Linked DNA regions of Homo sapiens: regions 1 and 2 are each linked to region 3. The links are contacts of gene promoters, found by promoter capture Hi-C in blood cells and fetal thymus (Javierre and others, 2016). All regions are on one chromosome and are shown on one strand. Each heading gives the region's core, a stretch centred on a gene start or on the middle of the fragment in contact. The rest is flanking DNA. Distances are from core to core; before and after follow the strand shown.

Region 1 (2,700 bases), core at 62-2,561, 400 kb after region 3:
GCACTGTCAGTCTTGGACACTGCCATGTGTATATTGATCAATGTAATAAAAGTAGAATATACAACTATACAAAAGGAAAAAAATAAAAATCATTCATATTCTGCCACCCAGAGAAAACAAAGGTTAATCACCATAAATATGTTTCCTCTATTACAGCTACCCATTTCCCCCCGCCACCAGTTATTTTGATCCCTCAATCATAAAATTCCAGCCCATAGTATTTCTGTGTATATGCCTAAAGTATAAATACTCAAAAAGTGTAATCACAAACAGGAACCCTCATACACAGCTGGTGGAAATGTAAAATGGTGCAACCACTTTGGAAAACAGTTTGTCACTTCCTTAAAGTGTTAAACATAAATTTGCCATAATGACCCAGCAATTCTACTCTTGCATATCTGCCGACACAATGATTGTCATGCACAAATGTTTATAGTAGCATTATTCACAGTATGTCTCAAAATTGGAAACAGTCTAACTGCCCATCAACTGGTGAATGAATATGTTGTGTTCATACAATTGAATACTATTCAACAATAAAAACAAGTTGCTGATAGCATGCTGTAACATAGGTGACCAAAACGTGCTAAGTGAAAGGAGCTAGACACACAAAACTGCATACTGTATGATTCCATGTGAAAGGTTCAGAAAAGGCAAATCTGTGGTGTCAGAAAGTTAATCTGGTGAGCTGGGGACGAGGTGGACTAACAATTATTGTACGTGAAGGGTCTTATGGGAATAATCTAGTGATGGTTGTACAACTTGGTAAATTTACTAAAAGCACCATTGAATTATACACTTGAAATTGCTGAACTATCCAATTTAAACGTATGCCTTAATAAAATTATTAAAGATACGTAACTACAACCATTAACAACATTACAGTTCTTTATTAATAAGACCTACGCTTAGCAAATAGTTGCTACGTTATATCTATAGGTTCCCACTTAATTTCTTTTTATCTTTTTTCCTTGTAATTTTCTGTGGAAGTAACTCGATCATTTATCCTGTAAAGTTCCCCCCCAGTCCAGATTTTGCTGATTGCCTTGTTGTAGCATCATGTAATATATTCTTTGGTGACTTGATAGATATCTCTAGAGAACTGAGTAGACTCCGGTTTTATTTGGGGTATGGAGGAGGGAACTACTTCACGAGTGGTGTTACGCTCACATTTTTCTAAGGTAGAGGGGTGTGTGTGTGTTTAAGAGACAGTGTCACTGTAGCCCAGGCTGGAGTGCAGTGGTAGGATCGTGGCTCACTGCAGTCTTGATCTCCTGGGCTCATGGTATACTTCTACCTCAGTCTCCCAAGTAGCTAGGACTGCAGGCGTATGACATGACACCCAGCTAATTTTTATTTTTTGTAGAGACAGGGTCTCACTATATTGCCCAGTTTGCTCTTGAATACCTGGTCTCAAGAGACCTCTCACCTCGGCCTTCCAAACTGCTAGGATTACAAGCATGAGCCACTATGTCTGGCCTAAATTAGAGTTTTTGATGGCTAGTCTTCCATTTTTTGGAAACAAAAATTAAGTCTGAAATAGTCTAGTGCAACATGTTGGATTTTAAGAATTTCTGTCTAGAGTTTGTTCCTTTTTCCTTTTTTTACAGCTGATAAGCAATTTGAACCTGAAGCAAAATAAAAACTTACGCAGACCTTTTGACCAAATTGTTTAAATGTGAAGTTACTCCAAGGTGTCTGACTGTTGCTTCTCATCTTAATTATGCAGCTTTAAATTTAAAAAATTTAAAAAATTTTGTTTAATTTTTTTTTAATTTGTGATGGAGTCTTGCTCTGTTGCCCAGGCTGGAGTGCAGTGGCCCGATCTCAGCTTACTGCAACCTCTGCCTCCCAGGTTCAAGTGATTCTCCTGCCTCAGCTGCCCGAGTAGCTGGGATTACAGGGGTGCACCACCACGCCCGGCTAATTTTTGTATTTTTAGTAGAGACGGGGTTTCACTGTGTTGGGCAGGCTGGTATTGAATTCCTGACCTCAGGTGATCCACCCGCCTCTGCCTCCCAAAGTGCTGGGTTAACAAGCGTGAACCACCGAACCTGGCCTAATTTATTTTTAATTTTAATTTTTATTTTTTATTGTTTTGAGATAGAGTCTCGCTCTGTCACCCAGGCAGTGGTGTGATCTTGGCTCACTGCAACCTCCGCCTCCGGGTTCAAGCAATCTTCATGAATAGCTGGAATTACAGGCATGCACCACCATGCCTGGCTAATTTTTGTATTTTTAGTAGAGACAAGGTTTCATCCTGTTGGCCATGATGGCCTCAAACTCCTGGCATCAAGTGATCCGCCTGCCTGGGCCTCCCAAAGTACTGGGATTACAGATGTGAGCCATTTTTAATTTTCGTGGGTACATAGTAGGCATATATATTTCTGGGTTACATGAGCTATTTTGATACAGACACGCAATGCATAATAATCACACCAGGGTAGATGGATATCTGTCATCTCAAGTATTTATCCTTTGTGTTTCAAACAGACCAGTTATACTCTTCCAGTTATTTTAAAATGTATGATTGGATTTTTTGTTGTTGTTGTTACTAAAGTCACCCTGTTGTGCTTGCAAATACTAGGGCTTATTCATTCTTTCTAATTTTTTGTACCAATTAACCATCTCCAAATCCCTTCTACCCCCCCACCAAGCCCTGTAAGCTTCCCAGCCTATGGTAACCATGCTTCTACTCTC
Region 2 (2,860 bases), core at 61-2,560, 380 kb after region 3:
TCGTTATATCAGTCAGTATATAAAGACCTTCCTTATCTTTTTTTTTCTTTTTTTACTATATAGTATTCGTTTGTTGGTATATGCTGTAGTTAATTCAGCCAGTCCTTTTGCACTTGAATTTGTTCAGTCTTTTGCTATTAACAGGCAATTTCATACTGATTAAGCTTGTACATGTGTATTTCTTATGTATGTAGGTTTCGTGATGGTTTCGTTTCCTAGAAGGGTGTTTGCTAGGTGAAAGGGTACATGCGTCTGTAATTTTGATTGATATTATTGGATTCCCTGTATATATATCTTGCATTTTGCATTTCAGCAGCAATATATGAGGGTCCTTGGAATGCCCCCCCTTTCCCTACAGCTTGACAAGTGGTTGGACTTAAATCAGATTTTGCCAATCTGATAAGAAACACTATCTCACTGTATATTTTTTGTTTGCATTTCTGTTTTCAGCTTATCATATATTCAAGGGCCATTTGTATTTCTTTTCTTTTTCACATACTTGTCCATTTTTTCATTGGATTATCTCCTCTGTTTCTAAGAATTCTTTATATGGGTGTATTTCCGGACTTTGTATTTTGTCCCACTGGTCTGTCTATTCATTTGCCACTCGTATACTTTTAGTTCTTGAGGCCATATAAAGTTATATTGTTAGAGCTGTTTTCTCATTGCTCTTCATTTTCAGAGTTTTCCTGGCAATTACTGCTTGTTTATTTTTCAATAAGATCTTTAGAATCAGCCTTTCTAGTTCCTGGAGGAAAAAAATTGATACTTTTATTGGGTTTGTATGAATTTTAATATCTTAAGAAGAGTTGATACCTTTATGATGTTTAGCCTCTCTAAGAATATGATTATAACTTTCTCTTCATTCAATTCTACTTTCATTTCTTTAAAGGTTTTTGAAGTTTTCTTTAAGTTTGCACATTTGTGATTAAGTGAAAATATACAAATATTTAGTTGCTATTGGAAATGAAGTCTTTATTTTTGCTGTTGTTTGTATTATAATATGTTGTATATATGAAGATTATTGATCTTTGTATATTCTTTTCATAGGTTACTATCTTACTGAATTCTCTTATGTTTGTAGTCACTAATTCTTAATATTGTTTTAAAGCACATTTTATGGAGTTGGTGAGTACTATATAGGATTTTTTTTTAGTACCAAAGTCTTGGTTGAGAGACATTACACTATCCATTTTTACTGGTTTAGATATGTAGCATGATGAACCTCAGCAAGTTTAAAAAGAATCATTTCTTTATTTTGACTTGAAATTTCAAGTTTTTAAATTGATGAAAAGTTGTCATTTATTGTGGCAGGGGTGATGTGAAATCCAGCCACTTATTGGTATGTGTTACAACTTAGCTAAGTCCAGTAATAGTCAGTACATACTACTAAATGATTCAAAAGCAAATGGTCTTTTAGATCAAGTAATAGATCTCTTAAATTGAGATGTATTTACCTTAGATAGTAAGAATGACTCTTTGGTCTCTTATAAGAGGTGAAGAGAGATGCTGTTTCTGGGCTAGTATTTTTGCTAAAATGGTTTTATGAAAAACTTTCATAAGTTAAAAATTTGGGGCTGGGCGCGGTGGCTCACGTCTGTAATCCCAGCACTTTGGGAGGCCGAGGCGGGCGGATCACAAGGTCAGGAGATCGAGACCATCCTGATTAACAGGGTGAAACCCCGTCTGTACTAAAAATACGAAAAATTAGCCGGGCGTAGTGGCGGGCGCCTGTAGTCCCAGCTACTTGGGAGGCTGAGGCAGGAGAATGGCGTGAACCCAGGAGGCGGAGCTTGCAATGAGCCAAGCCATTGCACTCCAGCCTGGGCGACAAAGTGAGACTCTGCTTAAAAAAAAAAAAAAAAAAAATTGGGGGCTTGAAGTTAAAGCACATTGTCTTGAGTAAAAGATATTGGTAGAAGTTCAGAAATGTAAACTGAATTGTCTTTTATCTTATTTTACCTAAGTGGACTATGGAATATTAAGCTATTGGTATACAAATACTTGTAGGCCGGGTGCAGTGGCTCACCTATAATCCCAACACTTCATGAGGTCGAGGTGGGAGGATCACTTGAGGTCAGGAGTTTGAGACCAGCCTGAGCAACATCGTGAGACCCCATTTCTACATTAAAAAATTTAAAAATTAGCCAGGTGTGGTGGTGCATGCCTGTAGTTCCAACTGCTCCGGAGTCCGAGGCAGGAAGATTGTTTGAGCCCAGGAGTTAAGAGGCTGCAGTGAGCTATGATGATGCCACTACATTCCAGCTGGTGCAACAGAGTGAGATCTTGTCTCAAAACAAACAGACAAACAAAAAACCCCAAAAACCAAACCTGTATTTCCCTTCCCCTTTTCCTGATATTTTAATATTTAAGTATACATATATTCTACATAATGAATACTGTATCTATCATCCTGAACTTTTTAACAGCTCTAGTCTTTTGTATACTGAAGCTTTCAGGCTTCAAATAAAGCATACATATCAAAATATTTTGAAGAGTAATTGAAATCTCAGTTTCTCCCCCTCCTTTTAACTAAACAGATGGAAAGAATTATTTGATAGTGTTTTCCAGAGCCCTTTATAATGTAGCATATTTGAGTGTCTGATTCTTTGAATAATGAGTGTGAGAAAATTGAAAATTGAAATGTAGAGCGCTATAGTAGGTTTTAGTAAACAAAGTTTTGTTATGTCACAGTAAATGGTAATGGATAAATAGGATAACAGGAGTGTCTTATATTTGGGAAATTACATTCATCCCAAAAGAACAAAAGCAGTAAGCAGGAAGACAAATTAGCTTACCCTAATAGTGAGAAAGGGAGCTGATAGTTTAGCCTCATGAGGTCAAATTATGTAATTTCTCT
Region 3 (2,933 bases), core at 230-2,729:
AGAATGTAGAGAGAACTAAAGAGGGTTCCTGTCCTCCCCAGACAGACTTGACAGTCAGAACCCCAAAGTATAGAGAAGTTAAAATGAACTACGGCAGTAGCCCAGAAAAGGAAAACATGTGTCTGAGGGCAAGAAAAGAATTCATCAAAACGGTAGTGTGTGAGGGCTGGGTGCCTGTAATCCCAGCACTTTGGGAGGCCGAGGCAGGCGGATCGCTTGATCTCAGGAGTTCGAGACCAGCCTGGCCAACATGGTGAAACCCCTTCTCTACAAAAAATACAAAAATTAGCCCGGTGTGGTGGGGCTTGCCTGTGGTCCCAGCTACTGGACAGGCTGAGGTGGGAGGATTACTGGAGCTCAGGAGGTGGAGGCTGCAGTGAGCCAAGATCACGTCACTGCGCTCCAGCCTGGGCGACAGAGGGAGACCCTGTCGCAAAAAATAAAAAATAAAAAGCAGCATCAGAAGAGTCTTAGGACTGAACCTTGGAAAAGCTCATGTTATGTGACTCCATGAAGAATTTTTACTGTACGGCCCAGTAGAGCATGAGCTGGGTGGGGGCGGGGGTGTGTGTGGGAGTGTCGGGGGAGGTGAGGGAGTATCAGTTCTTCACCTTAACATCCCATTCTGAAGCACAGGACAGCCCCTTGTCAGAGACACACATGCATTTATCATTTCTGTATAACTGACTCAATATACAGCTACAGAGCTAATTTCACGCTGTTTATCTTGTAACATGGATTCTGTCTATGCTTCCCAAGTAATATTTTCATTTCCATTTTAAAATTCAGAGTTTAGAAAAATGCCTTCAAATACCGTTAGGAGAACCATTCAAATCAGGTGCCCAAAACTAGATGGCACATTGATTCATCTATGGCTGGATGGTTAACTAAGTAGTGCAAGAAATATGAGCTGTTTCAGAACGCAGACGTTTGTTAGAGAACAGGAACTTCTGCTCTCCGTCCTGGAGATTCCAACGTTTGGCCCGATTCTTTGTGAAAACAGACCAGGGCTCCTTCTATGAGAAGAGTAGAGGAGAGGAATGAAGGACAGGAAGAGGACGGAGTTGGGAGGAATGGAGGAAAAGGCATTATGTTAGATAGGGAGAAATCTAGGCTCCAGCCTCAGCTGTGCTGCTAACTCGCTGTCTCTTGACCTCTCTGGGCATTAATTTCCTCAATCTACAAAATAAGGCAACTGGACTGAATTATCAATTCTAACCCTTCCACCTGTGATTCTAACCCATTCTGGTGCCTAATCAAGGAGGGGACAGATGGTCAACCAGGAAGACCCATAGGGGCCACAGAGGGCTGATGCGACCCTCCCAGGCTCTCCGTCTCTCTCACCCTCTCCTTCCCCCTCCCTCTCCCCCTCCCCCTCTCCCTCTCCCTCTCCCTCTCCCCTTTGGCATCACACGCCCCTGCGCGCCGCCTCCAGGAGCGAGCCGCTCGCGCCCGAGGCCACGTGACCCGAAGGCGCGAGGGCGCGCCTGAGCCGCCATGTCGGAGGCGCGTGGAGAGCCAGGGTCCGGGCCTGAGGCTGGCGCCCGATTCTTCTGCACTGCGGGTCGCGGCCTGGAGCCGTTCGTAATGCGAGAGGTGCGGGCGCGGCTGGCGGCCACGCAGGTGAGTTGGCCTCGCTGCGCGCCTGGGGAGGTGGGCGGCCCTGTCCCTGCCCTGTTGCCCACCCCAGTCGTGGACGCGGGAAAGCGTCGCTGGCGCCCCTCTCTGTTCCACGCGACGGTCGCCGACCCCCGAGGTTGACTGGCAGGCGCTTCCGCTCCGGCCGAGAGAAGCCACCATTCCTTTCTTTCCTTGTATAGCAAATCCAGTTCCTCACTTCTCAGGGCTCAAGTTTTTAAGAGAGGTGTTGAGGCAAGTTATTTCCTGGATTCTTTAAAGTAGTAAGTAGTGCCTGTAATTAGAATCTGGCCTGTCAGAGTTAGAACCCTTCGCTCTTTAAATGCAAACATAATCTCCAAGTTCAGTTACCTGACTTTTTGTTAGTTTCTTGACAGTGATTGTATTTGACTACATAGGATTGTTGTGAGAATTAAATTATATAGCGTATGCAAAGTACACTTTAAACACGCAGTAAATAGCAGCCAGAAAAATAATATACTCTTGCAGGCCTCATAGTTATCTGTTATTGATTTCTGTGAAATGAACAAGGTTTTAAGCATCGGTTTAGGTTTTAGAATGTTGAAAACTGGTTTCTTGAAAGTAGGGGATGAAGGTATAATAGAAAAGGTATCTTGATGGGGTGTATGGGACACTGTGAGTGATGTACTCTTGGAAAAGGAGAGCTTCCTAAATGAAATTAACCCCTCCACCCTGGCAGCTCCTACAGTGTGGGAAGCCCACAAAAGGAGTTTCTGCAGTGAAAGGTTGGAGTCGTGAAGAATTATGTCAGTTTTGTTAGACTACCTGCCACTTGTGTTTTGGGTCACAGAATTTAATAGAGTATTGAATGTAGCTAATCTTAAAAAGCATCAATATATAATAACTACTGACATTTATTGAACATTTAATATGTGTCAGGCACATGTTCTTAGATCTTTACCCTATATTTATTTGCGTACTTTTCACAACAGCCCTATAAGGTAGGTGTTCCACATTTAACAGATGAGAAAAATGAAGCACAGGTAAGTCCGAGAATTTATTCAAGTCATGCAACTAGAAAATCGCAAAGATGGGATTCAAACCCGAGCTGGGAAATCAAGAATGAGTATATAATCATGTTCAAACCAGGCCCACTATATGACCATGACATAGGGGTGCGCTGGCTTGTTTTTTTAAATGCTAACTTAGAGTGCTTGGTATGAAAGAGAGAGAGAGCTTGGCCCAATTAATATGTAGGATTATTAGAAAAAGGAAAGACTCTCTGCTTGTTCTCCATCTTCTCTAAAGACAAATGAAATGGGGAAAACTTTATT

What was found. Contacts are between HindIII fragments. The CHiCAGO score rates a contact against its expected background, and 5 or more counts as called.
Region 1: a fragment that was not itself captured here is called in contact with the fragment with the promoter of THUMPD2 in region 3 in 2 of 17 cell types (naive B cells and erythroblasts); the score reaches 6.5 in naive B cells.
Region 2: a contact is called between a fragment that was not itself captured here and the fragment with the promoter of THUMPD2 in region 3, in 1 of 17 cell types (total B cells). The highest score is 5.1, in total B cells.

What each region holds. Positions count from the first base shown.
Region 1 is chr2:39,373,760-39,376,459 of GRCh38, reverse strand. The region is part of intron 2 of MAP4K3 (mitogen-activated protein kinase kinase kinase kinase 3); the gene reads left to right. Among named protein-coding and RNA genes, the nearest start is that of MAP4K3, 62 kb to the left of the region's middle. The HindIII fragment of the contact is 2,715 bases long and covers 1-2,668 here.
Region 2 is chr2:39,395,488-39,398,347 of GRCh38, reverse strand. All of the region lies in intron 1 of MAP4K3 (mitogen-activated protein kinase kinase kinase kinase 3), which reads left to right. Among named protein-coding and RNA genes, the nearest start is that of MAP4K3, 40 kb to the left of the region's middle. The HindIII fragment of the contact is 2,288 bases long and covers 167-2,454 here.
Region 3 is chr2:39,777,804-39,780,736 of GRCh38, reverse strand. It overlaps THUMPD2 (THUMP domain 2 tRNA and snRNA guanosine methyltransferase), which reads left to right and starts at 1,479. Exons shown (of 10, transcript NM_025264.5): 1 at 1,479-1,623. The coding sequence starts at 1,498. The HindIII fragment of the contact is 5,327 bases long and covers 1-2,933 here.